7 separate regions of the Homo sapiens genome follow, and all the other regions are linked to region 3. Evidence: promoter capture Hi-C in 16 types of primary human blood cells and fetal thymus (Javierre and others, 2016). All regions are on one chromosome and are shown on one strand. Each heading gives the region's core, a stretch centred on a gene start or on the middle of the fragment in contact. The rest is flanking DNA. Distances are from core to core; before and after follow the strand shown. Region 1 overlaps ABLIM1 (actin binding LIM protein 1). Region 2 overlaps DCLRE1A (DNA cross-link repair 1A). Region 3 holds the start of TDRD1 (tudor domain containing 1). Region 4 overlaps CASP7 (caspase 7). Region 5 overlaps PLEKHS1 (pleckstrin homology domain containing S1). Region 6 has its middle 29 kb from the start of DCLRE1A. Region 7 overlaps CASP7 (caspase 7).

The links. The method cuts DNA at HindIII sites, captures the fragments that hold promoters and counts their contacts. A CHiCAGO score of 5 or more calls a contact.
Region 1: a fragment that was not itself captured here is called in contact with the fragment with the promoter of TDRD1 in region 3 in 1 of 17 cell types (naive CD4 T cells); the score reaches 5.0 in naive CD4 T cells.
Region 2: a contact is called between a fragment that was not itself captured here and the fragment with the promoter of TDRD1 in region 3, in 6 of 17 cell types (activated CD4 T cells, non-activated CD4 T cells, naive B cells and 3 more). The highest score is 5.7, in activated CD4 T cells.
Region 4: a contact is called between a fragment that was not itself captured here and the fragment with the promoter of TDRD1 in region 3, in 1 of 17 cell types (naive B cells). The highest score is 5.5, in naive B cells.
Region 5: a contact is called between a fragment that was not itself captured here and the fragment with the promoter of TDRD1 in region 3, in 1 of 17 cell types (monocytes). The highest score is 5.8, in monocytes.
Region 6: a fragment that was not itself captured here is called in contact with the fragment with the promoter of TDRD1 in region 3 in 3 of 17 cell types (neutrophils, monocytes and naive B cells); the score reaches 5.3 in neutrophils.
Region 7: a fragment that was not itself captured here is called in contact with the fragment with the promoter of TDRD1 in region 3 in 2 of 17 cell types (fetal thymus and naive CD8 T cells); the score reaches 6.2 in fetal thymus.

What each region holds. Positions count from the first base shown.
Region 1 is chr10:114,523,742-114,527,136 of GRCh38, forward strand. The region is part of intron 6 of ABLIM1 (actin binding LIM protein 1); the gene reads right to left. Among named protein-coding and RNA genes, the nearest start is that of AFAP1L2, 120 kb to the left of the region's middle. RefSeq lists enhancers at 2,888-3,007, 3,178-3,395. The HindIII fragment of the contact is 2,440 bases long and covers 926-3,365 here.
Region 2 is chr10:113,841,571-113,845,076 of GRCh38, forward strand. It overlaps DCLRE1A (DNA cross-link repair 1A), which reads right to left. Exons shown (of 9, transcript NM_014881.5): 5 at 2,534-2,674; 6 at 773-918. Among named protein-coding and RNA genes, the nearest start is that of DCLRE1A, 11 kb to the right of the region's middle. The HindIII fragment of the contact is 4,432 bases long and covers 1-3,506 here.
Region 3 is chr10:114,177,644-114,180,884 of GRCh38, forward strand. It overlaps TDRD1 (tudor domain containing 1), which reads left to right and starts at 1,710. Exons shown (of 25, transcript NM_001395205.1): 1 at 1,710-1,773. The HindIII fragment of the contact is 8,256 bases long and covers 1,252-3,241 here.
Region 4 is chr10:113,714,036-113,717,372 of GRCh38, forward strand. The region is part of intron 2 of CASP7 (caspase 7); the gene reads left to right. Among named protein-coding and RNA genes, the nearest start is that of CASP7, 36 kb to the left of the region's middle. The HindIII fragment of the contact is 3,383 bases long and covers 1-3,183 here.
Region 5 is chr10:113,769,970-113,773,348 of GRCh38, forward strand. It overlaps PLEKHS1 (pleckstrin homology domain containing S1), which reads left to right. Exons shown (of 13, transcript NM_001395068.1): 8 at 2,001-2,120. Among named protein-coding and RNA genes, the nearest start is that of MIR4483, 6.4 kb to the right of the region's middle. RefSeq lists an enhancer at 2,645-3,379. The HindIII fragment of the contact is 2,413 bases long and covers 766-3,178 here.
Region 6 is chr10:113,823,738-113,827,161 of GRCh38, forward strand. No RefSeq gene overlaps it. Among named protein-coding and RNA genes, the nearest start is that of DCLRE1A, 29 kb to the right of the region's middle. The HindIII fragment of the contact is 3,104 bases long and covers 1-2,831 here.
Region 7 is chr10:113,692,548-113,695,718 of GRCh38, forward strand. The region is part of intron 1 of CASP7 (caspase 7); the gene reads left to right. Among named protein-coding and RNA genes, the nearest start is that of CASP7, 14 kb to the left of the region's middle. The HindIII fragment of the contact is 5,855 bases long and covers 1-3,171 here.

The DNA of each region.
Region 1 (3,395 bases), core at 896-3,395, 350 kb after region 3:
CTTGCTGACCAAGCTCCTGGGTGGTCTTTCCATAGAAATCATTGACATTCATTTGTCTGTTCATCAATGACTGAGCAAATAGTATGAGCAGGCACTGTGCTATATCCTGGGGGCAAATAGACCTAAAATGCTCACATTTGCTGCACTCAGGGATCTTTGGTCTACTGAATGGGGGGAGAGGGTGAATTTTAATTACGAAGAACTGTTACTTAGAGAGCACATGGTGTGTGTCACATTGGTACCTCCAGGTGGAGAGAAATGCAAGATTTGCTTTGCAATCAAAAGCAGAAACCACAGCTCTCTGATAACATTATGGGCCAGTCCAGGTCTGTCACCAAGAATAGACTTCAATAAGTCAAGGTGTTTCCCTATCTGTTCAGCCAATGCTAAGCACCACTAAGCACTATGCAGTGGTACATCTCATCTGGTTTGGGTGGTGGTGGTAGCTCCTGGAAGTCACGGTGCTCAGTGCAATGTACTATATTCTTGGAGAAACACCAAGAAAAAGCAGCACTCGCAGCTTCATGCATTTTGTAATCTGTAAACCTTTGAGAGCAAACAAGCAGTAGCATTAATGCTAAAGGTGTAAGAAAAATTTTAAACGGAAAAAATCCCAGCCATTGACTTCATCGTTATCTGTAAATTGGAAAAAAGCTGTGATTCTTCAATTGCACTCACAAAACAAGGCCCAATTCCTAAAAAAATCAAAACAGTTTGAGACCCACTGGTACAGATGGCGAAAAGAAAAAAGAAATGAAAGCATTCACTTGCAGATTCTAGAAGAAAAAAAAACTAACAGGCATGGCCAGATTTACTAAAAACCCACATTACAAACAAACAAACAACAACAACAACAAAAAACTCTATATTTACAGAAGGGAAAAGTATGGGTAACTATTTGCTTTATAAAATGGATCACTGTATAAGCTTCTTTTTAAAAAAAGACAAAATAGTATATCCCCAGAATGCACTTTAGAATTCAATTGAAAGAAGTTTGACTACTATACCAATCATAGCACTGTATAAAATAAGTCCCACAAGGGCACAGAAGGAAAAGGGGGCAGAAGAATGTATATCCGCAGCAAGTCCTTGAATCTGATACCCCATTCCCAAGATGTGATTTCAGACAAAACCCAAACAAAATAAAAACCAAATGGTCAGGCAAAAACACCTGTCCTGCCACTGTTCCTTGGACCCCGCCAGGCCTCCCTGGGACTCCAGCCTCCTCTCATAGACCCTTCCCCCTCGTTGGCAGCAGTAGGCCCCAAGACAGGTTTCCCTCTAGCAGTGATTCCCAACCAGGGGCATTTTGCCCACAGGGAATATTTAACAGTGTCTGAAGATATCTCTGGTTCTCACAGCTGGGGAGGGAGTGCTACTGTCGCCTGGTGTGTAGAGATCAAGGATGCTACTAGACATCCCATAGACAGTCCCCTGCAACAAACTATAATCCCATCCAAAATGTCAATAATGCTGAGGTTGAGAAACCCTGTTCTACAGGAGCCAAAATCATGACCATCCCTCCAGAAAGTCAGGTTACAAGAACTGAGTAGTTCACTTTCTGTCCTTTTAGGTGAGCTATTGTTTAGTTGAAGAGAAAAATCTGCAGGCTTCTGTTGTCAGGATATAATATTCCCTGAGCTTACTGGATAAGCCACTGATGCGAGGATTAGACTCACTGACACATGAAAATGCTTAGGCAACCGCCTCGAAAACATTGGTCAAAACATTCTAAGTGTTATAAGGGATGCTTGGCAAGGCCTCACGCTTAGTCTTAAAAAGCCTTCTCAAAAGTAATTTATACCAATGAGCCGTGGCAAATTCACCTATTCTATAAGTACGCAGTGACTCAACAAGCCTTTTGATCCATTTATAGAATGGCAACAATTATATTTTAATGAGTTATTTTCACTTACTTGTCAGAACCTGTTTTGGTAATCTAAATAACTTCACATCCTCTTAACATTCCTTATGAGGCTGTCTGAGAGAAAAACAGGCTCAGTTTTCTTTTAAGTCTCCAATCTCAGCTAAGTGACAAATGAAGCTGCTATAGCGACCACACTCCTGCTGGCTTATGGCCAAACTCACGTTTTCTTTTTTTCTTTTCCAACATCATAAATCTATTTTTTTCACAGATGAAATAACTTTCTGGTCCCATTTCTTCTTTCATGCTAGTATAGCACATTTTAAAACACTTTCCCCCCAAAAAAAGTCTTTACAGTATGATTCGATTAATAACTGGGTTTTTAGGAAAACTATTTTCAATATAAAGGCCAGAATCTCTAGATTTCTTTTACTGCATATCAAAGGTGGAAAGAGAGGCAATTGTCAAGCTCTTTCAACCTAGAGCCGCAATAAAACATGAATAACATCTAAACATTTTGTTTCCTTATTTTCATTTATTGGGTATTTCTTAAAGAAAAAAAAATCTCATAATTTACAGTAATAGCTAAATCTACTCATTCCCACGTGCCACTTCCACCACCAAATCCCCCAAACAGGACTCAAATGTAAATTTCACAGAGCTCTACAAACCACAGACAAAACAAAACAACCCCAAAGTCTGAAAACCACAGTCTCCTTTCAATCTTGCGGGTAGCAGCCTAAAAAAACATAAGCCTTGTTTAAAAGGTCAACGCACTACACTTCTCAGTGAAATAAATAACCAGCCTTTCCTGCCCTTCAGTCTAGTTCTGTATCGATGAACAAAAGCTCCTGTCGTTTCTTTTGTATCATCAGGAAAACAAAAAGTTTACATAAATGTATGTCAGGGCAATAAAAGTGACTTCTGTCGCCAGCATCCAGCCACCACATTTGGAGGATCCGAGCGGCCTCCGACCTCACGAAGGAAGCCAGAAATCTCACATCTGCCACGCAAAGCAAAGGACATAGGTCACCTTGTGCAATGTCCGCTTTACCTCAGGCCAGGGTTCCTTTTCTTCTAATTCTGTTCCTTGGCTGTGCTGAGCAGAGAACTCCTCCAGGCTTCAAGTTCAGAACACGGCCAAGAGGCTTTGTAGATGCCAGACCTCAGCCCGACAGACTGAGGCTCCCACCTGCCTGGGTTACATATCAGGCTTCTCTCCGAAGCTCGGCTAAGGCAACGTGCATCCCTCTAGAGACGCACTCCGGAAACCAGCCCCGTGTGCGGCGGGCAGGCACGCTCTCTCACGCCTCCTCTCCTCGCTTTACTTACTAGTTCAACACACCAGCAACCACAATGGGCCAGTCCATGTTCCCAAAAAAGGAGGGGGAGTAGATTTACTTTCTTTCTTTTTTTAAATGCAGGTAGGAAAGTACCATTTCTTTGCATTCACTCACTATTGTCTGCATGTGAAACCGACAGTGATTGTCCCTGAGGCATAAGCTTGTACTGAAACGAGATTCTTAGGCTT
Region 2 (3,506 bases), core at 739-3,238, 340 kb before region 3:
AAGAAAAGATTAAAAATAGTAAACTTACAGCTTGTGAAAAAAAGTTACAGCTTAAGCAAATTTTAAGGTAAGAATTTACCAAATAAAAGGAAATTCAAAACATTCACACTTTTACCATGATATCTCAAAAAGGCTGAATCATTTTGTTAGTTTACTGTGTGGAATGAATTGTGAGAAAACTAAATAATTTATTTTTAAAGGCTTATTATTTACTATTTAAAAACTGCAAAAGTGTATAGAAAGTGGGTAGAGGAAGGGAAGGAACTAAATTTGAAGAAATTAAAAGCCCCAGCTTTATCATCTTTAATGTTTGATATAATGTGGCCATACGTAAGAAGAAATGGAAAGTATTTTGCAAATTAGTACAATACTACCTGGACAAACTAAGTTATACATCCAGAAATCATTTAGGAACAAAAATTAAAACTGATTGCCAATGTAATTATTATCCTCAAAGAATGCAGCAATACAACTATGCATTAATCATCTTTCAAAGTTTACTAAATAACAATGTAGCATGGGCAGCTGCTCTATAAATTTCTTATATCTAGAAAGCCTAAATTAAACACAATTATCAAATGTTTCCCTAAAGTCAAACCTTTCAAAGATTAAATGTTTCAAACTGTCAAATTTTCCTTCAACTTCAAAGGTAATATTGAATCATTACAGGAAATAATTATCAAATGCAAGAGTAGAAACTGAAAGGGCATTATGCAAAAAGAATCTGATCTTTATAATATATTAATGTAAATTAGATACACCTACAACTCACCTAGGAAGACTTTCTCTTTTCCAATAGAGTAAGTGCCACAGACAACAAGAGCATGTGGGTTTAGAGTTACAGCCTCAAAGGCAGTGTTGATGGCAAACCGGATAACCTCTTGCTGAGATGGAAAGGTGTATTCTGGGCTACAATATCTGTGGTATGGAAACATGGTACTTACTAAAAGAACAATAAAAAAGCCATCACCTTAAGCTGGATGCTATTTTAGAAAACAAGCGTTAGCAACTTACATACAACAGCAATGTAATATATTAATACCACAAGTTATCTCACTGCCTGTGGTTGGAATTATTTGCCAGTTACTACTAACTTAAGATCAAATTGTAAGTTTTCAATATATCTTTTTCATTATATTTCTTTTATCACTCTCAAAAAATTGTCTTTTTGAAGACTTTTTTCCTCCAAGAATATTTCTAGCAAGCCAGCTATTTTAGTTATAAATTATAAACCTCACTGTCTTTTATTTAACTCCAAACACTATCAAAAAATCATATTGATAAGGATTATATTTGGACTAAAGACTGTCAATAAAAAATGATTAAAGTAATGAAACTAAATATGAATTTAGTGAAACAGTTTTAAATCAGTTAATATTGACATGGTTGATATTAATATCATTTCTTACAGATACAAAATATATATACTATGTGTATATATATGTACATGTGTACACACACACACACACACACACACACACACACACACACACACACAGATACATGCAAATACAACAGATCCAGTTGGGTCTATCTCCATGCAATATAACCCAGTGAAAAATTAAGCTACTATCTATCTATCTATATTTGATATGAAAAGTAAGCACTTTTTCACTAAAAATGTAATAAACTGCAAAAGCCAAAGAAACATATTTTTCCCAATTTTCAGAATTGTTTTGCTAGTCAACTACTAGAGAAGAGTAAGAATAACCTTTCTCCTATAACAACCCATGAGGAAATTCAGAATCGTATCAGAATAGAACTAGGTAACAAAAAAGGGTTTTTTTAAAAACTTATTTTCTTAATTTATCCAGTGCTTAAAACTCATATAGAAGAATGGAAAAACCAGTTATAGTGTGAGAAAACTGGATGCGGAAAGACCATCTTTTACTAAAATATTGCATCCAAACGTACTTCTCCTTGAAACAGGTTGAAATGGTTAAGATAATTTCTAACAAGTTGATGAGATATTTTAATATATAAAATCACATCATACACCAGAAATATATACAATTTTTATTTACTTAATAAAGCTAGGGAGAAATACATACACAGTTAAAATGTAATGGCTTGTGCCATTATATTTATAGCACTCAGGAATTCAAAACTGTCACTTATAAATTATCTTTTTAAGAAAAGAACAACAGCAAGTTTGGATACTCAAAAACAGAATCACATTTTGACCTCTGTCTTCTCTTCACAATTAATAGCTACACAGTTACTCTGAAAGGACAACTTAAAAGGGTGTCTTCCTAAAGTTTGCTCCTAAGTTTTTCTTCCTTGTTTTAGTAACAGGATTCTCATGTAACATATTTTCAAAAATAAATCACACAAAAAAATGAGCTGTAGTCAGTTAACACATACAATCTCAAATTTGCCCTTAAGCAAGTATATACATATTTTTCAAACAGCATCCCTCTGATAAAGAGCCTTAAAATAATAATTGGCAATAAGCCATCATTTTGATAACCATAATACAGAGAGCAAAGGCTGTCAGTGGGAAAAGGAAACACACAAAAAAAGCCTCTCTTACGTGGTATCTAAGTACAGCATATGGACTTTCTGGTCCGCAAGAAGAGAACGTTCCATGCTGGGATCTGCTCTGAAGTCTCCCGTGTGTAATATGACAGTACCATTAGGAAGATAAAAGAGGATCATGACAGCACCTGGACAGCTGAACACAAATGTCAAAGGAATGTTCATAACACAGGCAAGCACCTAAAGGAACAGTATCTATTTCAATATCAACAAGTTAGCACGCTTTATTAGCTGACCACAATGACATAGCATTGCACTACAGGAAATGCGGCACTTCAACTCAAGGAAATTTACATCATAAAAAGAACTGGTGTGCAGGAAAGGCAGACCCAGGTTGCTCAAACTCCAAACATTCCCAAGAAAAGCATGTCTTCAGGACTGGCCCTTGGCTGGCTCCTAGGAAATGAACTCTGAACCCTAGGAATATTATGCCTGGTAAGACTGTTTTGTATGCCTGAGACATTGAACTATGTGATACTAGCTTGACGCTAACTTTGTGATCTATGGTGAAAACCCCATAAAGTTGACTTTAAAAATCAGAACTCGGCCAGGCATGGTGGCTCACGCCTGTAATCCCAGCACTTTGGGAGGCCGAAGCGGGTGTATCACCTGAGGTCAGGAGTTCGAAACCAGCCTGGCCAACATAGCAAAATCCCGTCTCTGCTAAAAATACAAAAATTAGCCAGGTGTGGTGGTGTGCGCCTGTAATCCCAGCTACTTGGAAGGCTGAGGCAGGAGAATCACTTGAACCCGGGAGGCAGAGGCTGCAGTGAGCTGAGGCTGTGCCATTGCACTCCAACCTGGGCAAAAAAAGCGAAACTCTGTCTCAAAAAAAAAAAAAATCAGAATTCAAACTGGCAATTAAAAAAAAAAAACAGTAGCAAAGTTAGCAGACAAAAACTTAAAGGCAACCTAATGTAATAGCTTGGCCTGGATTTTAGGTAACCTAGATTTAGTCTTCTTTCTCT
Region 3 (3,241 bases), core at 460-2,959:
GAAAAGGGACAGTAGGTAAAAACGAAGGAAATCAAAAAGATGGGCTTTAGTTAATACTGTATCAATGTTGGTTCCTTGGTTCCTTAATTATAACAAATGTATCATGCTAACAGACCATGCTAATAATAGGGGAAACGATGTGGCTTCTGTCAGAACTCTGTACAGCACCTTCTTTTCTTTCTTTCTTTTTCTTTTTTTTTTTTTTTTTGAGACAGTCTTGCTCTGTTGCCCAGGCTGGAGTGCAGTGGCAGTGATCTTGGCTCGGTGAAACCTCCGCCTCCTGGGTGCAGGCGATTCTCCTGCCTTAGTTTCCCAAGTAGCTGGGATTACAGGCGCCTGCCACCACACCCAGCTAATTTTTTTTTATTTTTTTATTTTAAGTAGAGACGGGGTTTCACCATGTTGGCCAGGCTGGTCTCGAACTCCAGACCTCAAGTGATCTGCCTGCCTCGGCCTCCCAAAGTGCTGGGATTACAGGCATGAGCCCCCACGCCCAGTCAGCACTTTCATTTCACTATTCTGTAAATCTGAAACTGCTCTAAAAAATAAATTTAAAAGACACATCAACTAAAGAAAAAAAATCAGGCTTTTAAAGAATTGAAGTTAGTGAAGTTAGTTTTATTCAGAGTCTTACTGAGGACTGCAACCAGGGAGAGCCCAGAGAATTTCTGTTAAACTACTCCAAAGCAGTGGGTCAGCACACTTTAAATATTAGGTGGTAGAGGTTCTGCCCAGGGGTTACATTAAAAGTGCCCAGAAGCTATATAAGATCAAAATATTTTCAAAGTTTGGGTGCGAGAGTAAGTCTAGGCATCATCATTAATCTTGTCCGTTAGGTACAGAAAAAGGCAAGGCCTAGATCTCTGAAAGTATCTTTTCTAAAAATGCAGTGACTCTGAGAGGTGGGAACCTGAGTTCTCTCCGCAGTCTTCAAGGCATTCTTCTGGAGGGCTGAGATGTTACTAAGTCAAGGGGTCTGAAATGCTGACAAACACAGTGAACAAACGTGGCTTTTTCACAGTGAGGGAGGACTATGCTGGGGGCCAGAAGCAGACGTTCGCTACTTTGTCTCACATTTACAATTCTCGGATTTGCTTCAAAACATTGCCCGAAGAGTGCCTGGGCTGCAGATGTAGACAAGATTAACCATGAATTGATAAGGTAGAAACTAGATGATAGGCACACAAGGGTTCCCTTATGAAATTGTTAGAAAAGTTCCATAGCAAAAAAAAAAAAAAACAAAACTTAAAAAGCTTGTCTTTAAGTAACACCAACAGGTATAATCACATGCCCTCAGTCAGGAAGCAAAGAAAAAAAGTATGAGCACGTGTGTGTTTACTTTCCAAGACCAGGCAGAGGCTGTTGATTATTTGGAAAACCTTGGAAGACCTTTAAGTGGCCACGGTGACCCAAGTGACCTTCGAGGAGACAAAGTCTGCATCTTTGCGCCCAAATTTGCCAAAGGCGTTGCCAGAGACATCTTTCTAGAAGAAGCTAGAACAAAATAAAAGTTTCTGCAAAGGAACTTTTTGAGCCTGTAACTAGAGCACAAGCTGCTTCCGGGGAAGGCGGAGGGAACACGTGGGCACATTGAGTTGCACGTGGACGCGGAGTGCGCAGGCGTGCGCTGAGGCCAGGAGGGCGCACTGGGGATTGGAGGCGAGGGAAGTGCAGGGCGCATCCCAGGCGGCAGGGCTCCCAGCATCGGCAGTCGCCATCACCGCCAGACCGCAGAGACAGGTTCGGATCCGCGGTCCTCTTGCCTCTTTCCAGGTCAGGGTTCCCAGGCGTATAGGGGAGGGAGAGGGCCTGCATGAAGGGGAAGGGAGGGGGCTTCGGTCGTTGGGGGCCAGACGTTGGGCGCTGGACGTTGAGGTTGGGCGTTGAGCGGGTACAAGGGGCCTGGAAGTGGAGAGAGGAGACTTGGAACCTTGCTGCGAGGGTTTGGTGTGGGAGGATTCTCTGAGTTTGGAAATAGCGCTTCCAGGCATCACTCCTTCAAATGCAAACGTTCACCTTCTCTCTAAGAGAAACTTGCATGTGGATTCAGTGCCTTCGTTTGACTAAAAATTACGATACAAACAATATTAACATTTACTAGACTTTTTTTTCCCTACTTTCCTCCTATAGGAAAGGAAGATGTGCTAGGGCATTTACTTAGATGTGGGTCAGCTGGCGCTAGTTTGTTTAAGGAGTTCCTGCTGTGTGCCAGTAGCTTTTCCGGGCCCTAGGGTCCTTGCTATAAATACGTTAGCCCTGCTGGGCTTCTGAACTAAGGGAGCTAAATGCTTCCAGCTTCCTTAGTGAGGCAGCACGGTGCTGTATGCTTAAATCCAAGGCCGTGGAGTCTGACCTGCGTTTTTATCTAAACTGTGTAAGGTGCTGGCCCTGGGTGGTTTGGTAAGTTATTCCAACTTCCCACGTCTCCCTTGTTTATCTGTAGGAATAACGAAATAAAAATACTTTAGTCCTCAAATTATTTTCATCTTAAGCCTGCAAGCTGGTTCCACAGGAATGGAAGAAATTTTGTGCTTGTAGGAGTGGTATAAAAGTAAAGCAGAAATAATAGCTGCCCTTTAAGCCCTTAGGAAGTACTAGCCACTGTGCTAAGTGATTTACTTCGTCTCTCATTTAATTCTCGTGATTAGGATTTGTGAGGAAGTTAACTACTGCCCTCTGCATTTTACAGTCGCTGAATCCTAGAAAGATGAAGTGATTTGCCCAAGATAGCGTGGCTAAATGAGGAAGACGAGACTTACCTGGCTGACTTAAGAGCTCATGCTTTACCGAAGCGTTGCGTTTTGTCTGTTTAAAACCGGAGTGTTTTTGTTTGTTCTTTGAGTAAGAGTTTCACTCTTGTTGCCCAGGCTGGAGTGCAATGGCGCGATCCCAGCTCACTGCAACCTCCGCCTCCCGGGTTCAAGCGATTCTCCAGCCTCAGCCTTCCTAGTAGCTGGGATTACAGGCCAGCCACCGGCGCCCTGCTAATTTTTGTATTTTTAGTAGAGACAGGGTTTCACCATGTTGGCCAGGCTGGTCTCCAACTCCTCACCTCAGGTGATCCGCCCACCTCGGCCTCCAAAGTGCTGGGATTACAGGCGTGAGCCACAGCGCCCAGCCAAAACCGGAGTGTTTTCTTTGAGTAGAATGGTTCTTGCAGAATACATGGGGTTGCCAGGAAGACAAAAGCAAACATCAGAGAAGGAAAAAAATGACAGCTGAGTATCTGTGCATACACTTT
Region 4 (3,337 bases), core at 242-2,741, 460 kb before region 3:
AGAAATCTGTTCTCTTCCTATATGTGAGCTTTGAGCCTAATGAGGCTGTACCTAATGAGTGTCTCTGCAGCAGCCTTGCAACAAGAATTGGCAAAATGGAAGTGCGGGTACCAGTGTGCCTGCCCCTCCCTCACCTGCCCCTGACATGTCCTGCTGGTCACCAGGCAGGACGGCAGCTCCATTTAGCTGATCACCTAAACAGAGGTGGCCCAGGGCCTCTGACTGTGGTGTTTCTTCAGCACGAAACGCTCTTCACTCATTCACAAAACACTGTTGAGCACCTGCTATGTGTCTGGCACTGTTGTAGAAGCTGGGGGAACTGCAGTGAAGTAGTCCAGGTCCTGCCCTCATAGAGTTTACACTCTAGCAGGAGACAACATAGCTCTGTAATTTGAGGTCAGGTGATGAATTTAAAAATTAAAGCAGGGGCCGGCGTGGTGGCTTACACCTGTAATCCCAGCACCTCGGGAGGCCGAGGTGGGCAGATTACCTGAGGTCAGGAGTTCGAGACCAACCTAGCCAACATGATGAAACCCCATCTCTACTAACAAAATACAAAAAAAATTGCCCGGTTATGGTGGCGTGCACGTGTAATCCCAGCTACTCCTGAGGCTGAGGCAGGAGTGGGAAGGAAAAAGTGGATATAATAGGGGTAGTAACTCATGTAGGCCCTGTGGGCTGTGGTCAGGACCCTGGAGTTCCTTCCCAGCATATGGGAAAACCACTGGATGGCTCTGGGCAAGGAACTAATCTGACTGGATTTATATATTTTTTTTTTTTTAAATACAGGGTCTCCGTTGCCGAGGCTGGAATGCAGTGGCGCGATCTCGGCTCACTGCAGCCTCTGCCTCCCAGGCTCAAGTGATCCTCCCACCTCAGCCTCCCAAGCAGCTGGGACTATAGGCGTGCACCACCACGCCTGGCTAAAATTATTTATTTATTTGTTTGTTTGTTTGTATTTTTTGTGGAGACCAAGTTTCTCCCTGTCGAACTCCTGGACTCAAGTGATCTGCCCACACTGGCCTTGGAAAGTGTTGGGATTACAGGCACGAGCTACCGCACCTGGCCTTACCATTTTATTTAAAAGCTCACTTTGGAGAGAAGCCAGTTAGGAGGCAATGGTGGACAACAGGTCAGAAGATGATGTACCTTGAGCGTTCCAGGGTCCTGGCCTGAGGGAGCAAGCAGCATGATGCCCAATGAACTAGGGTTGTTGTGTGCAGAGACAAGAGACCCAGGGATAGTGGCCAGCTCCACCGGGTGGGAGCCATCGTGGGTGCCCTGGGTCCTGCCATGCCCTGTGATCCTCCGCAAGCAGGTCTGAGCCGTGCAGGGGAGAGCTGCACCAGGACTGGGGCCGACAGGCCAGCAGGGACACCCTGAAGGCTTCAGAAACCCTGGAACGGAGTTTCACAGGGAGCCCTGGGAGGGCTTTAAGTGGTGATGGTGGAATCTGATTTTTGTTGTTGTTGTTGTTGAGACAGTCTTGTTCTGTCACCCAGGCTGGAGTGCAATGGCATGATCTCGGCTTACTCAAACCTCCGCCTCCCGGATTCAAGTGATTCTTCTGCCTCAGCCTCCCGAGTAGCTTGGGATTACAGGCACAAGCCACCACGCCCAGCTAATTTTTGTAGAGATGGGGTTTCGCCACGTTGGCCAGGCTGGTCTTGAATTCCCTACCTCAGGTGATCTGCCCGCCTCAGCCTCCCAAAGTGCTGGGAATACAGACGTGAGCCACTGTGCCCAGCTTGATTTCTCTTTTTAAAGGAACGCTCAGGCTCACAGGAATCTTGGGTGAACGTTACCCACTCTCCTCTTCCATTCCCACATTTCTCTTATCCATTGGCTTTGTTCTGCCCAATCTTTGCCAGTCTGTCCTCTTGGCTCCTCAAGCCACATGGTAAAACATGGCGGCCACCAACTCTCATTTTAACCACCTTGACAGAATGACTCTTTTTCTCAATTTCAATTCTCAAATTCCCAGGGAAGAGGGCTGATTGACCCAGCCTAGGGATCAGGTGCCCCCTGGACCAATCAGTGGTGGCTGCAAGGTCAAGGGGACAGGATGGCAAATCACTTTCTACCAATATGGTGGCTCTCACTGTAGCCTCAAAGGGAGAATAGGGATGAAAGGGATTTAATCCCCAGGGGAAAGAAGGTGCCTTAAAACATCACAGCTTAGGTGGAAGCCTAATCTCTTGGACTCTCATTCTTGCAGAATATATCTATAAGCAGTGGACTTTTAGTCCCTCTCCCCTTTTTTCTGGTGCTTTCCTCCTGATGCCTTCTAGACAATCATTTGCACCTTTTCTTTGTCTGTCTCCAGTTACATGTTTTAATCATCGGGGTTTGCTTCCTCAAAGTTAAGCTATGGATGGAGTTTTCCCAAGGCCAGCTCTTCTTAGGAGGATGAATTGAATTCATCCTCCTAAGAAGAGATTGAATTGATAGTCACTCACAAACACACATCTGTGGTCTGGGAAGATGTGGGTTTAACAAAAAGCTATTTTGGTTAGAAGGAAAAATTAATATTGACTGACTCAAATCCAGAAAGAGGAAGCAGATACCAAGTTCATTTTGAAAAATAAGAGTTCATTTTAGGGGCAGACTAGCTAAGCTCTTTTGCTTAGAAGGAGAAATTAATATTGGCGGACTCAAATCCAGAAGGAGGAAGCAGATATTAAGTTCATTTTGAAAAATAGGAGTTCAATTTAGGGGCAGGCTAGGTATCACCCTTTTGAGATATTTACCAGGAGTGAGGACCACATTTCATATTCAGTTGTAAGGTACTTTTCATAACCATGGACAGTGTTTTCTTAAAGTGTTTCTCTTTCTTCCCCTATTGTGTTCTTTTTATGTAACCAGTTAATTTTCCAAATTTTATTCTGATAGAACCAGAGTCCTTTTATTTTTTACATAACATATCTAATTCTGTTTTTCTCTTAAAGGATGCTTGCTGGTTTTGTTTTGTTCATCACTGAGGATGAGCTAATGACAGCTTTTAAAACATCCCAGCTTGTTTTTTACTTGGATATCATCATAGAGATCCATACCACAGAAGAAAGAAGTAGGACTTTTATCTCTGAAAGGATTTTAGTGCATAAACTGTGACTTCCAGCCTGCTAGACTTCATGCTAGTCTTAGGATCTTTGAATAGCCTTAAATTAGCTGCAGGATCCAGGAAGCTTGCTCTGAAATTCAGTTGACATGGTAAGAACCCTACTTTAGGCCAGATGTGGTAGCTCACACCTGTAATCCCAATACTTTGGGAGGGCGAGGCGGGTGGATCACCTGAGGTCATGAGTTCAAGACCAGCCTTGGCAACATGGTGAAAACC
Region 5 (3,379 bases), core at 722-3,221, 410 kb before region 3:
TTAGCAATTGAATTTAACCATGCCCACCTTCCTCAAAGCCCGATGCACTATAAGAAAGATTCTTAGCCCTGATGTTTATCCCATACCACAGATGAGCCTCACTGAGGGCTTGCCCTGAATACCTCTCAGTGTATTCATTCATTTTAGATGCTCTTGATATGCTTTGGGTATGCTAGGGTAAGACCCCTTTGCTAAACCAAAACCTAGCTGGCAACTTGCTTCCTTTCTTTCACACAGAGGGCACAGATCCCTCTGCCAAAAGATTTCCCAGACACTACCTGATTTCTGCCCATTCTGTCTGTACTCCTCAGGCAAAGGCTGAGTTTCTTGTTAATCTCTTCCCTTTACCCTGATCAATCTCGCTTCTCATTCATTATAGCTGTCTATCACTTCTTCCTCATTTCTAATGAAATCCATTTGAAGACATAAAATATAATGTACCTGCCTCTTGAAAGCGACTTGTAATTGGACCTTCAGCTTTCTTGGATTTGCAATGTTCCCAACTTGGGATATTAGTCATAAACATGCTGAGTGGTTTTGTTCTCTGGCACGGATACTATTTTGTCTCTTAGAGACTTATCCATTGACTTTACCCTGTCCATGTATACCAAGCACATCTAATGAGTCCTAGTCCCTTGTTTTATCTAGTTGGTAGCTCTCCAACTATTTTGAAAGCTTTTTGTAGCATATCAAATTCACCATGCCAAACACCTCACCTCAGTTCTTCATTTAGCGAGTAGAAACGGTGGTATGCAGCAGTTAGGAAGCTTCACCCTTGTCTGTAAGTGCCTCTTGCTTTTCACTCATGATATCTCCCTCCCCCTAGAGATAACATTATTGGTCACTTTGCCTTTTCACACTATAGATCCAGTGATTTTTAAACCAGCTCGAGTTAACAGTACTGTTTGCCTTGCTGGGTGGTGTTGTTGTTGGTTAAATTAAGTGGGCTGCCTTTACCCCCAACTCAGCATGATCCGGCTCCATGAGCTTGGAACTTAAAACATGGACAGAACTTAAACACACCTGTATTTTAAAACTTGACTTTTTTTCTAGAGAACATTCAGGGTCTTTTCCAAACCCCCTGCTCTGAGGCATTGTTCTTGGAATTTTTCTGCCATGCAAAGAAGCTACTTTAGTAGAATATTCTGTATCTATGGGGAAGGGGAGGCAATAGTGGTTGAATCTAGATCACCTGGAAACCCATAATTCATACTATCATATGATCAACACAACCAAATTCCATTGCTGTGGAAACAATAGAAGTGTGTGAACAGAACACAAAAGAAAAATATGGAGCAGGAACAGGAAAGGTGCAACGCCTTGATTCTGGGTTAATTACATTCTTAGATGGCACTGGATGATTACAGGAAAAAGATGAGGGTAGCAACTCCAGAGCTTAGTGACTTAGAATGCTACCCACAGGGCTGGTCATGGTGGCTCATGCTTGTAATCTCAGCACTTTGGGAGGCTGAGGCGGGTGGATCACGAGGTCAGGAGTTTGAGACCAGCCTGGCCAATATGGTGAAACCCCATCTCTACTAAAAAATATACAAAAATTAGCTATGCATGGTGATGCGCGCCTGTATTCCCAGCTACTCAGGAGGCTGAGGCAGGAGAATCACTTGAACCCAGGAGGTGGAGGTTGCTGTGAGCCGAGATCGCGCCACTGCACTCCAGCCTGGGGGACAGAGTGAGACTCTGTCTCAAAAAAAAAAAAAAAAAAAAAGAATACCACCCACAGGAGAAAACCACTTGTTCTGAGTGACTGTTCCAAACGGTAGAGAAAAAAAGCCTGAGTGATGTGCTTATATGTTTTCATCCTCAGTGGTGACCCAGACTCAAGAGGCAAGTTCAAGTTGTGTGAGCTTCTGGATGTAATCTTGGAAGACCCTCTGGTCTTTTTTAACCCAACTAATTTATTACGGCTTTTCTAGAATGCATGTGATTTAATTCTATCTCTTGCAAAGAAAAAGCAAAGCATTTTTATCTCTTTTCTTCAGCATTTAATGGAACAAAGTTCTCCAGGATTTAGGCAAACTCACCTACAAGATTTATCAGAAGCCACTCAAGATGTGAAGGAAGAGAATCATTATCTTACTCCTCGAAGTGTTCTTTTAGAGGTAACCCCTTCTTGTCCATTCATCATTTGTTTCTTTAACAAATATTTACTGAAACCCTGCCATGCACTTTTCGTGCAATATTAGGCTATGGTCAGTGGGAACACAGAAGTAAATCAAATACAGATGACGTGCTCATGGTGCTGACACTTGACTAGGAGACAGCTGTAATACAAGACAGAGGGTTCTATGCTGAAGAGAGATGCTTATAAAATACCAGGGGTGCATGAGCTATGGGAGGAGGAGATGACTTTCAAACAAAAGATCAGGAAGATTTCAGGGACGAGATGACATTAGGCCATACATGATGAGTAAAATTTGGATGTGGGGGATTGCCTTGAGGAGTCTTTCTGCATTCTTAGCAGAAAGAATAATATGAGCCAAGGTCCTTGGGTGATCAGTTGTGTGCTGTGTATCGATCAGTCTATTGATCAGTAGGAAGCCCTTACTGAATGCCTTCTGAGCACTAGTCACTGTACTGTACTGGGCATGGTGGCTAAAGTAATGAGCCTGACATCACCCTGCTGTCAGAGTGCATAGTCTTGTCAGTTACCACAGGATAACGCTGCACAAAAGACGTGGTCCGTGTGCTCTGGAAGCAATAGAAAAAGAACAGATTTTCTCTATCAGAGTCAAGGAAGGCTTCTGGGATGAAGTGCCATTTGATACATGTATGGGGAATAGTTCAGTGAGGCTGCAACCTAGAGTGCGTGAAAGGCATAGTGGGAGATAAACAGAAGAAAAGGGCCAGCCCATGATGGGTCTTGAATGCCAAGTTGACTTCATTCTGTAGACAGCATAGGGGAAGCGATGGCTTCTGAGTTGGGAAATCTCAAAACCTGAATTATCCTCCATTAGTATTAACTGAGCAGCTATATCTGCCATGGACTATAGAGAGAAGAGAATGGAAGTGAGAGATAGGAAGACAGAATGGAGGGTGGGAATGCTGCGTCATTTCCCAAACTGGGGGTTTTCCGTAAGATGGTGACGTATGTTTATATAAAAGAAACATTCTGGGGTCAAATAAGTTCCGGAAACACCCAGTTAAAATAAGTTAAACAAGCTTCTTAGCAGAATTCTCAGAGCATTTAGTATGCAGTGGTGCATTGTAAATAGTCAAGTCAGATACAACACATGGCATTTCCCAAGCTCCTTTGAGCACAGAGTTCTTCTTTCACCAAAATATTTTCATATTTCTGTTTCCTGGGATGCAGTCTTTTATGATAGTTCAGCCAACCAATCAGATGTGTACTGAGCATCAG
Region 6 (3,424 bases), core at 30-2,529, 350 kb before region 3:
ATACAACCTGGAATAAGAATAGAGTTCTTATATAAAAGTCAAGACCTTGGAAACAAAAAGATAAGTTTCTTGGCTGCTTATCTATTCGCATGACATGTGAATAGCTGGGTTGTTTAAAACTCTATGCTTTTACTATGTATGTTTTAAAAAACTTGATCTTAACCAGGAATTATATAATTATAGACTCTGAGCTAAAAGTAACTCAAATAATTTATCAATTTCATTATCCAACTTTCAGAGAAGATCTATAAGAGCCTGCTGCAATTTTAAAGTTTAAAAACTAAAGATTTACATTTTATATATTCACATCAACACTTTTTAAAAATGACATTGCTTATTCGAGGTCAGCTGATGTTATCTACCTTGATATTTAAAACTCCCCTATCTCAAGTTTTCCATTCCAACTGACAATTATGAATTCATTTTCATTACTTTCTGCAATCTGGAGCAGTAACTGTCCTACCTGCACTGCATACAACCACTTCATGACACCTGCAATGCTGCTGTGCCTTTTAACTTTACCCTATTATTAATTCAAATAATTCTCATTGAAACAAAATTGTAGGCTTCCCATGATTAAACATCATAATCATATAGCAATTCAAGGCCAAAGTCTATAAAACTATTTTGCTTGGGTTTAAATAATACATTTTAGAACATCCATTTAATTGAGCTTTCTATACATTGTTCCCTTTCAAAACAGTTAGTGAAGAGATACTCAACATCAGTAGTCATTAGGGAAACGCAGATCAAAACTACAATGAGATACCACTTCACACTCACCAAGATGTCCACAAGCAAAAACAATAACAAGTGTTGGTGAGGATGTGGAAAAAATGGAACTCTCATACATTGCTGGTGGGAATGTAAAGTGATGCAGCACTTTGAAAAACAATTTGGCAGTCCCACAAAAAGTTTAAAGTTACCATATGACCCAGCAATCCTACTCCTAGGTATATATCCAAGAGAAATGAAATGTATATCCACACAAAACCTTATACACCAATGTTCATGGCAGCATTATTCATAATAGCCAAAAAGTGGAAACAACCCACATATCCACCAACAGATGAACGGGTAAACAAAATGTGGCATTTTCAAGCAATTCAATATAATTTGGCCATAAAAAAGAATGAAGTACTGACACATGCCACAACATGGACGAACCTTGAAAATATGCTAAGTGAAAAAAGCCATGTGTTATATAATTCTATTATAAGAAATGTCTGGAACAGTTAAATCCATACAGGCAGAAAATTAGTTGTTGCCTAGGACCAAAGAAGGCAGGTGGTAGGGAACTGGGGCATGACTGCTAATGGGTCCAGGGATTCTTCTTTTTTTTTTTTGAGATGGAGTCTTGCTCTGTCACCCAGGCTGGAGTGCAATGGCGCGATCTCGGCTCACTGCAACCTCCACCTCCCAGGTTCAAGCGATTCTCCTGCCTCGGCCTCCCGAGTAGCTGGGACTACAGGGGTGCAACACCACACCCAGCTAATTTTTGTATTTTTAGTAGAGACGGGGTTTCACCATGTTGGCCAGGATGGTATCAATCTCCTGACTTCGTGATCCACCCGCCTCAGCCTCCCAAAGTGCTGGGATTACAGGCGTGAGCCACCGTGCCCAGTCTAGGGATTCTTTTTGGATGATAAAAGTATTCTAAAACTGATTGTGGTGATGGTTGCTCAACTCTGTAAATATAATAACAACCAATGAGTCGTACAGGTTAAATGTGTGAATCGTATGGTATGTGAATCATTTCTCAATAAAACTGTTTTAAAAACATTTTAAAATAGAGTTTGGGGGCCGGGCACACGCCTGTAATCCCAGCACTTTGGGAGGCCGAGGTGGGCGGATCACCTTCGGGAGTTCAAGACCAGCCTGGCCAACATGGCGAAACCCCGTTTCTACTAAAAATACAAAAGTTAGCCAGGCATGGTGACGTGCGCCTGTAATCCCAGCTACTCAGGAGGCTGAGGCACGAGAATCGCTTGAACCCGGGAGACAGAGGTTGCGTGAGCCGAGATCACGCCACTGCACTCCAGCCTGGGAGACAGAACAAGAATCCGTCTCAAAAAAAAATAGAGTTCAGCACTCTCCACAGATAAAAGATACTAATAAAAAAAACTGGCTGACTTAGCAAACAAGGATATTTGGGCTTTATTCCCTGCTTCCAGATACTGTTGCTTTTAGTTTATTTTACAATTTTATCTGTTTATCCCATGTGATATGTAATCAGAGCTCAGGGCTTCAGCAGGAAATTTGTAACAGTCCTTTCAAACAAACTTAAAAAACAGTTTAGTAACATTATCTAATGGTGTATTAAAGCCCTGCTTTGATGCCATTTTATGATCTTAAGCACTTGCTTTCCATGTTGAAATAACAGAAGGGCTTATACAGATAATGAAATTTGACTTCGCTAAACTTCCTTTTCCTTTGAAAAAAAAAAAAAGCCTATCATATTTGGGACAAAGTGGTGTTTCTGAATCTCTACATAATCTACTATAGTTCTACCAGGATTTAAACCCCGCAAATTCAGTCTGAAACGCAGAAGTAGCACTTATGTAAAACCAAGTTTGATTTAAATCAAATAAGTTGTTTAAAGATCAGTCCAATTCATCACTTACGACTTTACATACCGTTTTGTTTCTAAATTAGTTTCCTGTGTGTTCTATTTCACCAACTAGATCATACAATTTCAATCTACCCTAAATCTCAGGCTTCTCAAGATATGAAACCACACAGATTAATTTCTTAAGTATTTTATATATATTAGCTTTTGTCCAGCCTCCTAAGGAAACTCTAAATTCCTTAAAGGCAAGGACCTCGTCTTAAGCTTCAACACTTCACAGAGACCCCACAACTGAAATGTGTTTCTCAAGGTCTAAGGCGTGACCTTAGACTAGTCAAGCTACAATAATATACTGTATATATTATTAAGGTATGTATATATGTGTGTGTATCAAGTTTATATCTATATATCTTTATACCGCTACCATCTATTTTTCTTTTATACTTCATTTCCAACACATAATATGTTGACTACCCCCAAATCTTTAAGAACTCCCAATTTTCTTCAGAATAACCCCCAAACACCTTCCTATGGATTTCAAAGCTCTTTGTCAACTTCCCCATCTACCCTTTCTAGCCTGAGCATCAGATGCCAACACACCAGTTACTTAAAGCTCTTCTTCCACCCCTCTGCTGTTGCACCTCCAGGCCTCTGCTGTCTCTTGGATTGCTATCCAGTCTATGAAAAATCTGCTACACTTTTAAGTCCATGTCAAGAGCCATCTTCTGTATAGACCCTTCCTTTTCAGAATTTCTCTTTTTTAAATCCCTTCATAGCACTTTGTCTAATACTATACCCCTTATCACAGCTTGACTTATATGGTGCCTAAGACATGCCTTCTCTCCTCGTATTAAT
Region 7 (3,171 bases), core at 641-3,140, 480 kb before region 3:
CCAGCTCTTGTGCTCGTGAGTATAACCCACTGCCCACTCACCCCTCGGTTCTGGCCAAGGGGGTTCATCGTCACTCGAGATTATATCACAAATGTCAATTGGGAACCTCTCTCAACCTATGACAGACTACTGAGTTTGCTGGAAGATGTCCACAAGGTCACCTGTGAGGTAGGACCTGGAATGACTTCCTTCTATCCCTGCTGGAGACCGAGAGCACATGCAATGCACATCCCAATGCTATTCCTTCTCATGTATTCCCCAGTGCTCACTAAATCAGCTTCAGTGCTGGGTAGGGTTAAGACCTTTCCCTGTGGCCTGGATTGCCAAGTTCTCCAGTGGGAATGTATGTCCCAGAGACAGTTTATCCCCCTCACACTCCAGGGACTTAGAATTTTCTACCTGGTTCACAGTATAGGCTGCAGCCCACCACTTCTTTCAAAGGCTCTGTGGTTTCTTTCAGTTTTCCTATTAAGTTCCTGTGTTGCTTCTTGGAAAAAAGTACACAGCATGAATCTCTACACACTATTTTATCTTCCCAAGTGAGAGAGGCATGCTAACAATGCCTCCAATCTGCCATCTTGGAAAAAAATCAGTTGCTTTTCTTTTGCTGCTTTCAAGATTTTCTCCTTATCTGTTTTGACTCTTACCAGTGATTGTAATGTGTCTCAGTGAAGACCTATTTATGCCCAATCTGTTTGGGGTTCTTTGGGCTTCATGAATCTAGATGTTCCTTTCCCTCTCCAGATTTGGGAAGTTTTCTGTCATAATTTCTTTAAATAAACTTTCTACCCTTTTCTCTTTGCTCCTTCTGAGACACCGATACTGCATATATTGGTTCACTTGATGGTGTCCAATAAATTGCATAGGTTTCTTCACTCTTTTTCATTCCTTTTTCTTTTTGTTCCTCTGACTGATTAATTTCAAATGATCTGTTTTCAAGTTCACTGACTCTTTCTTCTGATTGATCAAGTCTACTGTTGAAACTCTCAATTGAATTTTTTATTTCAGACATTGTATTCTTCAGCTCCATAATTTCTGTTTCGTTCATTTATTGGTTTTTATTTCTTTGTTGAACTTCTCATTTTGTTTATTTGTTGTTTTTCTGATTTCATTTATTTGTCTGTCTGCTCTCTTGTTCCTCACTGGGCTTTTTTAAGATGATTATTTTGGATTCTTTGTCAGGTAATTCATAGATCTCCATTTCTTTGGGATCAGCCACTGGAGCTTTATTTTGTTCCTTTGGTGGTGTCATATTTCCTTGATTATTTGTGTTCTTTGAAGCCTCGCATTGTGTGTTCACACTTGAAGAAGCAGTCACCTCTTCCCGTCTTTATTGACTGGCTTTAGGAGAGAAAGACCTTTGCCAGTGAGCTTAGCTAGAGATTCTGGGGATCTCTCACACTTTTTCTCTAGATATACCTGCTCCACACCTCTTGTTCCCTCTTTGGGATTATATGTGTTCTCTCAGTCCTGCAAAGGCAGACCTTGTGCTAAAAGCCTCCTGCTTATTCCTTAGGGTAGTACCCTGAAATGTTCAAAGTTATATGTCTTCTCTCAATCCATCAAAGTTGAGCTGGCTGCTAATATCCCTACCTGCTGTTGAGATCCAAGCATTGTCTGTGGTTGTGTACAGACTGTTGTGCACTGAGGTACATATCAGCTGGTTGAAGGGGTACATAGGCAAGTTGTCCTGCAGGGTTTATGGGAGGGACTTAGGGTAGCATCCATGAGCTGGGTAGCAGAATCTATAGCCGGCTTTTGATAACCATACACTATTTGCACTCCTGCTGCTGCTTCTCCTTGCTCCTGGCTGCCCCAGACGATTCAGCCGTACTATTCCCCTCAGTGTTCTGGGTGGGATGAAACAGAAGTGGGTCTCCTAGACAACATCCTTTTGGGCTGGGAAAGCTGGGTGCTCACTTCACTCTCACTTCCCCCATGGGAGAATTGTGAGCTGGAGGGACCTCTCTTGGAACTGAGCTGTGCCACCTTAGGGGAGGGGTGATGTGGGTAAAGTGAGCTGCTCTTATTATACTCTTTGATGCATCCACTCTTCGATTTTTTGCTCCACCAGTGTGCTGAAACCTCTCAGTGGACTCCTGTGGCCTCACAAAAGTATTCTTGTCCATAGGTGTAGTTGCCAAAATCAGTATTTCTATATAAGAATGAAAACTGGAACCTCCTATTCCGCTATCACACTGACATTTCTTCTTTCTTTTAAAAATAGTGGTTATATTGTGTTGTCATCATATACCCTAGATTGAGCCTTTAAGATTAACTTTAGCAAAAGGGCCAACTTGATTAACACCACATATCAAAGTTAGTGTCTTTGTCTGGTGGATTTTTTTAAAACTTTGACTTACTAGTTTTGAAAATATGTGAGTGTGTATTGTGTTAATAACAGTCTATATTGGAAAGTAACTAAGTCTATGTAAAGGAGACAAGAGAGGCTATCAGGTATTTTCTGCATGTGTGGCCTTATGCTTATCTCCTCTGTGAGTTATCTCCATTTTTGAGAAACTTTGGGTTCTAATCTGAAAAATCTGCCTCCCAACCAGAAACACATTGGTGATGATGAAGGGAGGCTCATGATGTGTTGAGAAACAAGGTGACCATCTGACTTCCCATGGTCATTGTAGAGACCTGGCAGTAGGACTTTCCCTTCTTAGCTCCCTCCCCTCTTCCCAGTTCACCCTCAGATAAGCTGGAAGGTGACACCATAATGCCATTCGGAGTGCAAGGCCACTAGGTTGTCACTTTGCCTCCTTGGACACCTCCTTCTGAACTGCATTCCTTCTCCCCACCTCCAAAAGTTATTACTTGTGCTCAGCGGCACAAAATATTCTGTAAAGTAGATGCCTTCTTGTTTTCCAACTTAATGACAGCATCCCTGGGTGAGCCCTAACTGGAATACAGAACTGCACCTGACAACCGCGGCCTGCTCAGTGAAGTTGCTCAGGGATTGTATCAGAGGCATTTGAACCGGAGCAACTCCATATTGAATAGGGGCTGGGTAAAATAAGACTGAGATCTACTGGGCTGCATTCCCAGGAGGTTAAGGCATTCTTAGTCACAGGATGAGGTAGGAGGTTAGCAGAAGGTAGAGGTCATAAAGACCTTGTTGATAAAACAGGTTGCAGTAAAGAAGCCAGCCAAAACCCAGCAAAACCA